Regions from separate parts of the Homo sapiens genome. Here region 2 is linked to region 1. The links are contacts of gene promoters, found by promoter capture Hi-C in blood cells and fetal thymus (Javierre and others, 2016). All regions are on one chromosome and are shown on one strand. Each heading gives the region's core, a stretch centred on a gene start or on the middle of the fragment in contact. The rest is flanking DNA. Distances are from core to core; before and after follow the strand shown. Region 1 holds the start of BACH2 (BACH transcriptional regulator 2). Region 2 overlaps MAP3K7 (mitogen-activated protein kinase kinase kinase 7).

Evidence for each region. The method cuts DNA at HindIII sites, captures the fragments that hold promoters and counts their contacts. A CHiCAGO score of 5 or more calls a contact.
Region 2: a fragment that was not itself captured here is called in contact with the fragment with the promoter of BACH2 in region 1 in 1 of 17 cell types (megakaryocytes); the score reaches 5.9 in megakaryocytes.

Annotation. Positions count from the first base shown.
Region 1 is chr6:90,294,437-90,298,437 of GRCh38, forward strand. BACH2 (BACH transcriptional regulator 2) reads right to left here and starts at 2,407. Exons shown (of 9, transcript NM_021813.4): 1 at 2,044-2,407. It overlaps LOC105377891 (a long non-coding RNA gene), which reads left to right and starts at 2,803. Exons shown (of 7, transcript XR_942778.4): 1 at 2,803-3,300. It overlaps LOC124901361 (a long non-coding RNA gene), which reads right to left and starts at 770. Exons shown (of 2, transcript XR_007059676.1): 1 at 1-770. RefSeq lists an enhancer at 713-802 and silencers at 1,586-1,645, 2,271-2,320. The HindIII fragment of the contact is 2,083 bases long and covers 1,188-3,270 here.
Region 2 is chr6:90,574,333-90,578,587 of GRCh38, forward strand. The region is part of intron 1 of MAP3K7 (mitogen-activated protein kinase kinase kinase 7); the gene reads right to left. Among named protein-coding and RNA genes, the nearest start is that of MAP3K7, 11 kb to the right of the region's middle. The HindIII fragment of the contact is 1,476 bases long and covers 2,159-3,634 here.

The DNA.
Region 1 (4,001 bases), core at 1,157-3,656:
AATTTCTTTCAAAAACCAGAATACTAGAAGGGAAAACATTTCAGCCACTCAAAGTTTTGTGGTGAAATTATAAACTCCAGAAAAACTGAATTTATAATGGAAATGCTGACAGACCTTTCAGTGGAGCAGTTTGAACGCAACACTGTAATTTGGCAATCTCTCTTACAGACTAAAGACTAATTCTAACAAGATGTCATTTTGACTCACGTTTATTATTACCTGCAAGAATGAAAAACGCCGTTTACTCGGGAGGTGCCCGAGAACCAGGGTGGGGCGATCTCACATTTTAAGCAAGACGCCCGCTGCCTTACCAAAATAGCCCTCTCCGCCAAAGGAGGGGCAGCCTTTCACGCTCAGCTTCTTTCATGTCAGCCCGAGCCTTTGCAGCAAGACGTGCCTTTCCTACATGTTACATTTTAATGATCTGAGAAAACCGTTATCAGCGTTAACATCTCTAATTTTACTCTAAACAGACAAAAGCAAAATATCTCATTAGGCATCATCTCCGCCAAGGTTCCCACTAGGCAGGAAAGGATTTTTATCTAAAGTAATTACCCTTTTTAGTTAAATACACTCAACAGATGAAATTTACAGAGAGTGAGAGACTGCAGCACTAGACAGCGAAGGTGAAAACCAGGAACGCCGCGTCTCGCCGCCCGCGGGCCCGCCGGGAGACTGCGGGTCCGTCTCGCGGGTGGGGCGCCCCGGTCCCTCTCGTTTCCTGGAGGCCACAGGTCACGGCGACGGCGGTGACCGGGAGAGCAGGCTGCGAGGCGCGCCTCATCGGGCCACAGACAAACCACCCCGGCAGCGGCCGCGCCGGAACTTCCCTCAAGTTACCAAACTCGCCTACGCGCGGGAGAGTGCTGGGGATGCCCCATGCGCCCGCGACCCCAGAAGCCAGGAGTGTGCCACCCCTTCACACACTCACTCCCGGCCCTGCACGCTTCCCCTCACGGTCCGAGTTCCTGCAAATGCTTGGCCAGACCGAGGTCGCCGAGATGCTCGCTCCAGTCTCTCCCCTCGTGGGCACCTAGGGTAGCCCGTGAGCGCCGCCCGCCGCCGTCTCCAGCGGCGCCGGGCTCCCGAACACCCGCCGGGTGAGCGAAGCACAGCGGGGCCACGGAGCGCCTCGACGCGGGGACGGGGAGGGCAGTGTCCCCTTCATAAACCAGTCTCCTGGGTGAAGCTTCTGGGGCTTGGAGACTGGAGTGTAGGGTGTGTGTGTGTGTGTGTGTGTGTGTGTGTTGCACCTTGACTTCATGGAGGATCTGTGGGAGAGGAGGTGCAAGGTTTCCCTCTCAGAAGCCTGGCGCCCTTAGGTCTTAGCTACGCGGGACGCTTTCCGACAACCCGATCTTTCGCTAGGAGAGATTCGATCCAGGTCTGCGCCGCGAGGCCCCCAGCTCGCCTCTTCCTGCGACCCTAAACTTGGGCTTTGATTCCCCGCCGGTCGCGGTGGTCCGGGCCACCCGGCGGCGGCTGACAGCTGAGCGCAAAGGCGCCGCGGCCAAGGTCCTCGCGGAGCAGCCCGGGATGCGCACGCCGAGGGTTAAGGAGGAGGCCGCCCGGCCTGGAGCTGGGATCGCAGGCTGGGGGCCGGGACACCCGGGCCTCGCCGGGCCGGGGGCAGGGCCGCGGGTCTGACAGCTGCTGCGGCTCGCGCGGACGCGCGCCTCCTGCAGCCCGCCCTCCCCATGCCTGACTTATTACTCTCTGCTCCTCCTCCCTCTGCTGTTCCAAAACACCCTTCGACGCCAGCAAAATACAATGCGCCTCGGCCGCCGTAAACAGCCGGGAGGGAGAGCACACATTCGGCGCGGCGCGGCCGCCGGCTCGGCTCCCACCCCCTTCCCGTTCCTAGAAAATGCCATAAAAGCGGGCAGGGCGCGGGGAGGGCGGCTGCGCGCCCGGCGGCCGGGGCTCCCTTCCCGCGCCGTTTCCCCACGCCTCCCCGCCCGCCCCGCGCGCCCGCTCCCCCCGCAAACTTGCCCCGCCACCCCGCCCAGCGGCGGGGCCCGGGGCCCGGGGCCCGGGACTCACCTCGCCGGAGAACTTTGCGTCCTTTTCCGCCTCCTCTTCCCCGCGTCTTCCCGGCTCGCAGCCCCCTCCCGGCAGCCGGCGAGGTGGGCAGTTCGTGGGTCACCGAAAGCTCGCGGAGGGGACGCGCATCACATGGCAGCTCGTTCCCAGCCCCCCGAGTGCGCCGGGAAGGGGGAGGGGAAGGGGCGAGGGGAGGCCGGGGGGAAAGCGAGAGCGGGGCGGCGGCGGGAGTGGGCAGGCGGGGTGGCGAGGGCGGCGGCCGCTCACGTTAGCGCTGTGCGACCGCAGCCCGGGCGTGCACGGCCGCTGCTGCCGCTGCTGCTGCTGCTGCTGCTGCTGAGGCGGCGGCGGCTCGGCGCTGTTTGCTCCGCGCCGCGCGGCTTGCGCTCTCCCCGGAACGCCCACACTCTCAATCGCTACATTGTTGACATTCGGCGCTGACGTCACCCGCTCCCCATTCACAATAACTTTACGGGAGCCGGGCAGCGCACCTCCCCGGCCGCTGGGGCGCGGTACGCCCGGCGACTAGCGTAAGCCGCTCCGCGAATGGCGCTCCGGGGGCTGGGGCGGGGGGCGGGGGACGGGGGCGGGCGCGCGCGCTCCGCTGGCTCGCGGGAGGGGGCGCGCCTCATGCCGCCGCAGCAGCAGATCTCCCCGCTTTGTGCGGCCGCGCGGCCCGGAGAGCCCCCTCCTCCCGGCCCGGCTGACCGCCCCGCTCGGCCTGGCCTTCCCGGCCACGAAAGACGAGGGTTGGGGGCATAGCAGGGTGAGAGTAGTGGTGAGGGCTGGTGTGGCACGTGGGGAGGGGGCCAGAGCCCTAGGTGCTGCACCTGGGGAAGGAGAGCAGACGTCGGGACCGGGGATCCCAGGGTTAGCTAGCGTTTTCCCGGAAGGGCAAGAAAAGATGCTCCACTGGCCCCCACAAAGCTGACCGGACTCCCTTTTGGGTGGGGACCGGGCGAGTAAAAGCAGCCTTTTGAATGTTGACTTCTCAATCCTTTTCAGGAGGCCCTCCGCCTGCCCTACTGAGCGAACCTTTAAGCCCCCAAGCCAGTGTTTTTGGAAAGAGAGTGGTCAATTTCAGGAGGACATTAAAAGCCAACCTCCCGGGCTTCAGCCCCAGCTCCTACTGCCTTCCAGCCACTCTCCCCTGCCTTTCCTTTCTGCGGCTCTTAGGATGTTGTTGCTGCCCTTAAAGGCCGTCGTGTGAGTGCCCTGTCAGAAGAAAGCTTGGTGGTGGTTAGGATTTTACAGAAGGTAATTAGGATTTAGGCTGAATGTACATTTGCAATAAAATAAGGTTGTGTTAGTGTTGTGCTGGTGCCTGCAACTTTACCTCTTGCCAAGGCCAGAAAATTCTGCCACGTTTCCCTAAACACCTATAACTTGGCCCTCTTGTGTACAGGCAGTATTCCATATTATTACACGTGGTGCTGATTTTTAATGAATATTATAAAAGTTTGGCTCGCTCTACTGAGAGAAGGATCATAAATCCCCCCTGTAAAACGGGCACTGGCGTATGCTGAGGAAGCAGTGAAGCGTCCTGGGAGTCTTGTGATATCATCTAAAGTGTTGCTCTGAACTACCTTCATTTGAGGGCAGAGTTTTGAAAGGCCCCATTTGGAATGTCTGTGTGGAAAGCTAAGTGATGGCTGAAAGCAAGCTGAAGGTGCTGAGCTAATTTTTCTAACAGCACTGCAGAGTCCCTGCGTGGAGGTCTGGCACGGGACTGTGAGATTTTCTCTGCTAACCGACCCGGCCTTCAGATAAGGAAAAGTCCTAGAGCTAGGAGTAGCCCTCAGTCTCCTGACCTCTGGTCTGGTGCCCCCTAGGACAAAACACCCTGCTTCTGAGGTCCCTGCCTGACCCCTGGCAAGGACAGAGTACTAATTCCTGGTCTGCCCTGGCCAGGCCGTTTCTTATAGTTTTATGGATGGTTCTGTTTCTCATTCCTCATT
Region 2 (4,255 bases), core at 1,647-4,146, 280 kb after region 1:
CCCTGAACTCAAGTAATCGCCCTGCCTCAGCCTCCCAAAGTGCTGGGATTACAGGTGTGAGCCACTGCACCTGACCTGTAGTACTCACTTCTCTTGCAATTAACTAAGATGAATAGCAAGCAGGTCCTAAAAAAATTTCAACTTTGTGGCAACATTAGTTTAAGAACACAGGCATGGAGACCAGACTTTACCTATTGATATTACTATTAAATACGAAATGATTATGAAGTAATTTATTCTTCAACCATGTATTTATAAATACATCACAGCAACTGGTACTTACTAGGAATCCCCTTCTTTCATTTCTTCCATTTTGAGGAACGTCCATGCAGGGATTCCAAACATTATCTATATTTGTGAATCACATGTTTGTCATAAAAATTCATTTGACTATTTGTAATTCACAAGTGCCACCTAGTGATGAGAGTAGAGCTGATTCTGAGCTTTCAACTTAAAGCCATGGGAACAAAATGTGGTCAAATGAGGACATGAAAAACTTTCTCCTTTTTGCTCAAGAAAGCAATTTTCTAGAACACCCTGAAATACAAAACAGGCACATTCCTGTAAGATGAGCCCATGGGCTTAAGAAGCCTCCATTCTTATTAGGGCCACGAGATATTTCACATGCACAGTGAAATGACAGGATCTAAAGTTATAATAAAGAAAGGTGAAGATGTCCAAGGTTGTACTGACCTGAAATACAGGATAGAAATAATAACTGCTGTGAATTCAAAGGAGTGAGATTATAAGCACAGTCAATACTTAAAGAATTAAGTTTGTGTGTATCAAAAATGACTTCCCATTTTTAAAAATAGCATAAAGGTAGATACACTGGGGATGAGAAGAAAAAATATATATAAAGAATGGACCCCTGCCTTCATGGAATGAAAGTGCGGTAGAGAAGAAATTTAAGACTAAATAATAGTACTTAAAAACTTTTAAACACTTACCAGCTGAAGAGAGCCAAAGGTAAGGGCTAATGATGAAGGCTAATAAACTCCTCCCTCCCCCTTTTCAGGATAGGGTTAGGGTAGGGATTCAACAGCAAAAAAGACTCATACCCTTCTCTTCTCACTTAGATCCCTAAGAGCAGGCATCCTCACAGCATGTGCTCTGCAAACACCAGAAGCTTCAAAGGAGTAAGGATTGTGGCAAGGAAGACAGACCAAGGGAGGCCCTAACCCGGGTTCCCTCAGCCCCAGTAGAACACGTAAGGGATAAAGAAAAGCTCTTGTGAAGCAAAAAGCAAGCTAACTGAGAAGTAAGGAGTCTTCTGATTGCAGGAAGGAGGCTGCGGTAGGGCAGAGTGTTGGGACCTACATTAGAGGTCTGTGGGATGGTAGCTAGCTCAAATACTTAATGAAGAACACAGCTGGGTTTCAGAGGATTAATGAAAGCCAAGGGGAAGGCCTGGTCAGCAAGCAGGGAGAACTGGGTTAGGTCTTCTGCCTTCAAAGGATGCAAGTGAGGCTTGATGTTGAAAGAATAATGAACTTCGTTTGTTTACTCCTTAAACCAATATTTCTTTAGTGTGTACTACATCCAGCTACTGTTTGGGACATCAGAAATACAGAAAGAAATAAGACAAAGGCTCTGATCTACACAAATGTACTTTCTAGCGTATGTGAAGGGAGGGGAGGAGAAAAGAAAATCGATATACAAACAAAAGATGAGTAAGAAAAAAATCAGACTTTAAAAAAATGCCACATAGAACAACGACAACAACAAAAAATAGGATGCTATGACCAAGAGACTAGTGGCAGCTCCAGGCTGGGCAGTTTGAAAAGGCCATATAAAGAGGTTACGAATCTGACATTTGGATGACACAAGGCACCAATCCCAGCACTTTGGGAGGCTGAGGCAGGCGGATCACGAGGTCAGGAGATTGAGACCATCCTGGCTAACACGGTGAAACCCCATCTCTACTAAAAATACAAAAAATTAACGGGGCGTGGTGGCAGGCACCTGTAATCCCAGCTACTGGGGAGGCTGAGGCAGGAGAATGGCGTGAACCTGAGAGGCCGAGGTTGCAGTGAGCCGAGATCGCGCCACTGAACTCCAGCCTGGGCAACAGAGCTAGACTCTGTCACACACACACACACACACACACACACACACACACACACACACACACACACAGAAGAAACAACTAATATAAAGCTTTGCCCTAAGGGAAAAGAAAAACCTCACTACCTTATTTACTCCAATATGTGAGCCCAATCTAAGGGCTATGCGCTATTTTAGGCACTGATGATACAAGAGTGAACAAACCAAATCAAAATCCTTGTTCTCATTGTTTATATTCTTGTGGAAAAAGACAAATAAAAAGGAAGGGAGTTGTGTGCTAAGAAGAAAAGGAGTATAATTGTGTGTGTATACACACATGTATGCACTCTGCCTCACTCCAATTTTAGACAAGGTAATCACTCAAGGCCTCACTGAGAAAGGTGACATTTTAGTGATGATTTAGAGAAATACTTGGGAGTGTTTGGTGTGGCTGGTGTATAGTGGAGGAAGGGAAGAGTGATTGTAAGGTAAGGCTGGAGGGACAGGCAGAGGTTGGATCCTGAACGGCTCTACCTACCATAAAAAGGAGTTTGAATTTCAGTCTAAGTGCAATGTGAAGGAACTGAAAAAATTCAAGGAAGTAAGGATGGTATGTGACATTAAACAAAATCATTATAGCTCTTAAAGAAAGGATTGTAGGGAAGCTAGGATATGTAAATAGAGACCCATTAGGAAGCCATTACAGCAGTCCAAACAAGCAACAATAGCTACGAGGGCAAGGTCAATGGTAGTGCAGAAACTGGGCAGATCTGGGAAATGTTTTAGAAGTAGAGTCAATAGGGTTTGCTGATGCTCTGCATCCAGGCAGGACAGGTGTAGAGGAAAAGAGCTGAATCAAGGAAAACACCTAGACTGGACAACAGTTTACTGAGGGATAAGAATGATGCAGATTTTTTTTTAATAACTCAGAGTTTGGTTTTAGTCATATGAAGTTTAAGATGCCTACTGGATATCCAAGAGGAGATATCAAGTAAGAAGGTAGAAACGTGAGTGAGAGGATCTATGGAGAAGTCAGACAAAGAGATACAAACTTGGGAGTCATTAGCATGTAGTCAGTTTTTCTAGTCAATCAGTTGGAAGAGGTAACCAAAAATAATATGGAGATAGTGGAGTAGAGGAACTGAGCTTTGAAGCAGTTCAACATTTAGATCACAAGAGAGGAGAAGGAATGGGCAAGGAACAGGAAGGAACAGTCAATATGGTAGCAGGCAAACTAGGAGAGAGTCAGAGAAGCCAAAAGAAAAAGACGTTCCAGAAGGAAAGCAGATATAAGGACAGTGAAAGCATATGCCAGTGGCTCTAAAAGTGTGGTCTCCGGTTCAGCAGTATCAACATCACCTGGATATTTATTAGAAATATAAATTCTCAGGGTGCAACCCAGAATTATAGAGTCTGACGGTAAGGCCAAGCAATCCATGTTTTACCAAGCCCTCCAGGTAGTTTCAATGTTTGAAAATCACTGCATTCAAGGCTAATCCATTAACAACAGATAATAAGGCAAGATATTTCAGTGGAAGCCATCACACAGACCAGAGAGCTCTCCCTTGCTGTTTATATTATTTGTGGAAGCTTTCCACAGCACCCATATGTCATCTTGGGCAGGAGAAAGGGAAAAGGAAAATCCTTATGGGGGAAGACTGAATTTTGAAATAACCGAATTAATCTTGAAATTTCTGAGTACAAAGATACATAAAAGAGGTAAGTATTACATGGAAATTATCCTTGTTGTGGCAAGATTAAATGCTTTTCTCTACTGAGTTGAAAAGAGGAATGACTCATAATTAAACAGTAGTTTATAGAAAAATAGTTACATTTCTTAACTTTTAAAAACAAGTAAGAAATACCGGCAGGAGGACAGGAGTTTGTTTTGTTTTGTTTTGTTTGTTTTTTTGAGACAGGGTCTCACTCTGTTGCCCATGCTGGAGTGCAGTGGCGCGATCTCAGCTCACTGCAGCCTCTGCCTCTCTGGCTGAAGTGATTCTCCTGCCTCAGCCACCCCAAAGTAGCTGGGATTACAGGCTTGTGCCACCACACCCAGCTAATTTTTGTATTTTTAGTAGAGTCGGGGTTTTGCCATCTTGTCCAGGCTGGTCTTGAACTCCTGAGCTCAGGCGATCTGCCTGGGTTGGCCTTCCAAAGTGCTGGGATTACAGGCGTGAACCACTGCACCTGGCCAGAGACAGGAGTT